2 separate regions of the Homo sapiens genome follow, and region 2 is linked to region 1. Evidence: promoter capture Hi-C in human tissues and cell types (Jung and others, 2019). All regions are on one chromosome and are shown on one strand. Each heading gives the region's core, a stretch centred on a gene start or on the middle of the fragment in contact. The rest is flanking DNA. Distances are from core to core; before and after follow the strand shown.

Region 1 (2,700 bases), core at 27-2,526:
CTGATAACTGCAGTCTCTAACTTAGCATATCATCCTAAACCTACTACCTGCACACATAGGAGTCGCAGCGCAACTATGTACTAATGGCAGCCAACACTCATTACCCTTCATACCACCATCACTGTGCAAACCCTTAGTGCATTTTCCAATATGATCCCACAATCCTTCATTTTTATGTTTTGCCCACGCTAAAATTCGACAGCGAATTCTTGCAACAATTATTAAGCGTCTGGAATTGTATTAGGGTCTGGGGGTAGAGGTGGGGGACGAAGCGGGAATAACTGCAGTACACAGCAGACCCTATGAAAGTGCCAAAACGCAGGTCTCACTCGGAAGGCTTTGGGAGTTGGGAGAGGAGAAGGCTCATGGGCAGCTAAAGCCACCAGTGACCTCATTATGCAATATTTAGGTTATCAGACTTTTCTATGCCTAGAAAAGCAGCGCCTCAACCATTCCAACGGGACGCACCGCGTTCAGTGACGACCCTCATCGGTGCCCACAGCTCTGGGCTCGCTGAAGGCACCACAGAAGCACCAGTTATTACCAGTGTTAGGGTCCAGTGGCTTCTTCTGTCCCTTTCCTCTGGATCCCAAAGTGTTGGTTCTCTTTTGTTAGTTTTATTCCGGTCATGCCAATGAGCACAGATTCACAGCCCAGGCGGCCCGCTCGGAATCCCAGGCCGGCTGGGGACCGGTGCACTTGGGCTCCGCGCCCCCTCGACCCTCGGCCCAGTGCCCCTTCCCGCGCGCGCGGGTCTCCCCGGTTCCAGAGCCCACCGGTCCCCGCCGGCTCCTTCTCCCCACCCACCCTCCCACCGGGCCCCCGGCGGCTGCAGCCGCGCGGGGCTGGCGGGGCGGCGACCGGGCTCAGGCAGATCCCCGCTTCCCGCCTTCTCGGCGCCCCCTCCCTCCCGGACGGAGCCCGAGGATCCCCCACCCACGGCGGGCGTGAGGAAGGGCTTCTGAGTGACTGGAGCTCTACCGCGTGTGCCCCGGGAAGGCCAGGCTACCCGGGACGGGGCTCGGCTCCCCAGGTGAGCTCGTCTCCGCGGGACTGGGTCCGGGAAGGCCCCAGGACCGCGCGGCTGAGCGGCCTGGAGGCTGCGGGAGGGCAGAGCAGGGCGCGCGGGAGACTGCCGCCCCCGGGCGCCCAGGGCCCGGCTCCCCAGCGCCACCGCCGCAGCAGGTGGGGGCCCAGTGGGCGGGGGCGGGGCCCGGCTCTGGGCGGAGCCGAGGCGGCGGCGGCGCAGGCTGGGGCCGGGGCCGGGGCGGGAGCCGGAGCCCGAGCTGGAGCAGCGAGCCGGGCTGTCGGGGCGACCGCGGGAGCTCGCCGTGCGCCGTGGCTGGGACCGGCCTGGCCGAGCGCGCCGGCGCCGCGGCCGCAGACAAAGGGCGGCTCGCGCCCGGGCCGCCACGCTCTCGGGCTCTGCCTCGGTAAGTGGCTCCCCTCCGCTGGCTTTCTCCTCCCGCCGCCTGCGCCTCTCGGAGTTCGGCGGGCTCCGGAGAAGCGGGGAAGAGATGAGACTTCCCCGCCCGCACTGCCTCCCCACCTTACCCTAACAATAAGCCCCCCAGGCCAAGCCACTGCCAAACTAGCGAGTTTCCGAGCGGCGGGGGTCTCCCGCGGGACCCGCCCGGCTGCCCTGGGTGAGCTCCTCGCCTGCAGACCGCGCGCCGGTGCTGTCCTGGACCCGTTTGGGATGGGAGGTTGCCGCTGGGCTCCTCGCGTTGTGTTTAGGGGAGGAGGACGCAGGGGCCGGGCGCCGCTAGGGGACCCCACCCCCGGGGACAGTCCGGAGCGCTTGGGGTCGCCGAGGGGCAGTTCACACTGCGAGTTCAGATTCGGATCGCAGTCCCGATTATCCTCCCCTCCAGCCTCTCCCTTTCTCGTTGAAGGGTTAATACAGCGTCCTCTCCCCTCGCCACCCGACAGAGGCGCCTACACTGGCGGTAGGTAGCCCCTGGGAGAGGGGGAGTGGGGGGACCCCGCCGCTTTCGCCGCTGGGCGACCCAGAGCCCCAGCCTGCCGGAGAGGGCAGCGGCTCGGGTTTGACATCCCAGCTGGGTCCCGGGCCGGCTCCCTGAGCCTCCTCCCGGGTTGCTCTCTATCAGGAAAGCAATCGGAAGTCAGGCCGGCTTTTGCTTTTGTTCTGCCAGCTACTCTACGGAATCGTAGGTGAAGCCGGGGTGGGCGGATGCCCCGGGAGGGGGCTGTGGCGGGAGTTCCAGGTGCGTCCCCGAAATGACCATTGGAGGCGGCGGCTGTTTCCCGCCCCTGGGTGGGGAATGGATTCCGATCGCTAATCGATACCCTGGAGCCAGCAGTGGGTCAGCAGCGTCCCGACAGAGCGCAGCGGCCGCGTACTGTCACGCGCCTCTCCAGCACTCTCGAAAGCACTACCTCGAGACGTGCATTTCCATTCATGGATCTGTGCCTGGGGGTTGATTAATGTCACCCCTGCCTGGGTTGAGGAGTGTCCACAACTGCTCAGTAGCCATTTACTGGGAGGTTACTGTGTGCAAGGCAGCTATCTTAAATAACCTTAATGTAAAATATACTTATTGAGCACCTACTATGTGAAAAGCAGGTATACTGCAGACTTTTCAATTGAATGGATATGTATTGAGCACCTACCCCGTGCGAAGGTGAAGCGTCATGACGTTCTCAATGTAACAGATATTTATTGAGTACCTACTATGT
Region 2 (2,700 bases), core at 5-2,504, 56 kb before region 1:
GTCATGGCTTCCCTTGGCTAGGAAAGGGAAATACCCCGACCCCTTGTGCTTCCCAGGTGAGGTGATGCCCCACCCTGCTTTGGCTTGCCGTCTGTGGGCTGCACCCACTGTCCAACCAGTCCCAGTGAGATGAATCACGTACCTCAGTTGGAAATGCAGAAATCACACCCATCTTCTGCATCGATCATGCTGGGAGCTGCAGACTGGAGCTGTTTCTATTCGGCCATCTTGGAATGCCCCCTAGATCAGTCTAGAAATACAATCTTTTTACATTGATCTTGTATTCTGCAATCTTGTTGAACTCGTTTATTACTTTTGATAGTTTTTTTTACTAGATTCTTTAGAATTTTCTATATACAAGATTATGTCATTTGTGAATAGAGATAGTTTTACTTCTTCCTGTCCAAAATGGATGGCTTTTACCTTATTTTTCTTGCCTAATTGTCCTGGCTAGAACCTCCAGTACAATGTTGAATAAATGTGGTGAGAATGGGCATCTTGTGTTGTTACAGATCTTAAGGGAAAAGAATTCAGTCTTTCACCATTAAGTATGATGTTAGCTGTGGGTTTTCCATACATGTCCTTTATCAAGTTAATGAAATTCCTTTCTATTCCCAGTTTGTTTGATGTTTTTAATCATGAAATAATGTCAGATTTTGTCAGATGCTTTCTCAGCATTAATTGAGATGATCATGTGATTTTTTCCCTTCATTCTATTAATGCAGTATATTATATTGATTGGTTTTCTTGTGTTGAACCACCTTTGCACTCCTGGGATAAATTGTACTTGGTTATGTGTATAATTTTTGCACACTGCCAGTTTGGTTTCTTAGTATTTTTGTTTACAATCTTTGCATACATATTCATAAGAGACATGGATCTGCAGTCTTTCTGTGATGCATTTGTCTTATTTTGGTATCAGAATAATTTCTGGTCAGTTTCTGGGGAACAGATCATCTCATATTCTAATTTCATGGAATGAATTAGGAAGAGTTCCTTCTTCTATTTTTTTGAATTTGAGTTTGTGAAAAGTTGGTATCAATTATACATTTGGTAGAATGTCTGCATTGATGCCATCTGTTCCTGCTTTTCTCTTTGAGTAATCTGATTTTTTGTTACTAATTCATTCTTTTCCATTATTACAGTTTTGTTCAGAGTGTCTATTTCTTCTTGGGTCAGTTTTATTAGTTTATGTCTTTCTAGGAATTTGTTCATTTCATCCAGGTTATCTAGGTTTTTGCATATAATATCATATATTTTGCATGTATTCCCTTTATAATCTTTTTTTTTTTTGTCAATCTAGCTAAAGGTTTGTTAATTTTATTGATGTTTTCAAAGAACATGCTTTTGGTATTGATTTTTATATATTGTTTTTCTCTTCCTTGTTTCATTAATTTCTATTCTAATCTTTATTATTTTCTATCTTCTCCTTGCTTTAGATCTTTCTTCAGCATCTTCAGGTGGAGGTTAGGTTGATTTGAAATCTTTCTTTTATAATATAGGCATTTATAGCTATACATGTCCCAGTAAATGTCACTTCAGCTGCATCCTGTAAGTTTTGGTATGTTGTGTTTTTATTTCATTCATCTTAAAGGAAATGGTGGGAGAGAGAAACACGATAGGAAAAAAAGTTAACATTTGTTTTTTGTTTTGTTTTGATACAGAGTCTTGCTCCGTCACCCAGGCTGGAGTGCAGTGGCACAATCTCAGCTCACTGCAACCTCCACCTCCTGGGTTCAAGTAATTCTTATGCCTCAGCCTCCCGAGTAGCTGGGATTATAGGCGTGTGCCACCATGCCCAGCTAATTTTTGTATTTAAAAGATATTTAAAACACGATAGGAAATATTTGTGTTTAAAAGACATCTTTCTTCTTTTTAATATAGGCATTTATAGCTATACATTATAATATGTATAGCTATAAATGCCTATATTTTTGGATTTTCCTTTTTATTTCTTCTTTACATAATAGTTACTTATGACTGTTATTGTTCCACATATTTTCAAATTTTCTAAATGACATTTATATTTTAATGAGTAGAATATAATAAAGGTGAGGAGACATCACTTTTGAGAATAGGTTTCAAAAGACTGTGACTTCTCTCTCGTTTGCACATGCTCTGCTTGGCTTTTCCCACTTGCTTATTCTGATAAAGCAAGCTGTCATATAATGCACCACCATATAGAGAGGCTCATGTGTCAGGAACTGAGGGCAGCCTTTGGCCAAGAGGCCAATAAGGGACTGAAGTTCTCAGTCCGATAGCTCACAAGGAGCTGAATCCTATCAACAACCATATAAATGAGCTTGGAAGTGGACCCTTCCATAGTGAGCCTTGGTTGACAGCCTGATTGCAGTGGTATAACACAGTCTGAGCCCAAGGACCCAGTCAAGGCATGCCCAGATTTCCGATTCACAGAACCTGTGAGATAATAAATGTTGTTTTAAAACCACCAAGTGTTGAGGTAATTTGTTACATAGCAGTAGATAAATAATAAGATGTAGTTGCTTCAGAAAGAGGGCCTGGGTCCTTTGAATGGGCCAGATGCTTATTTTTATTTTCTGTCTCCATGATGTAAGAGGCCTAGAAAGGACCCTACCTCATACATTGTCTCTGTGCCCCACCTTCTCTACTGGAAACTGAGTGTGGTAAATCAGGTTGGATCTTTTCTGGGGAACTGACCATCTCAGATTCAGGTGAGGA

What was found. The method cuts DNA at HindIII sites, captures the fragments that hold promoters and counts their contacts. A contact is called where the count stands out against the background at its distance.
Region 2: a fragment that was not itself captured here is called in contact with the fragment with the promoter of MAPK4 in region 1 in 2 of the 25 tissues and cell types used here (aorta and stomach).

Annotation. Positions count from the first base shown.
Region 1 is chr18:50,558,811-50,561,510 of GRCh38, forward strand. MAPK4 (mitogen-activated protein kinase 4) reads left to right here and starts at 1,277. Exons shown (of 6, transcript NM_002747.4): 1 at 1,277-1,433. The HindIII fragment of the contact is 20,188 bases long and covers 1-2,700 here.
Region 2 is chr18:50,502,985-50,505,684 of GRCh38, forward strand. No RefSeq gene overlaps it. Among named protein-coding and RNA genes, the nearest start is that of MAPK4, 56 kb to the right of the region's middle. The HindIII fragment of the contact is 5,262 bases long and covers 1-2,700 here.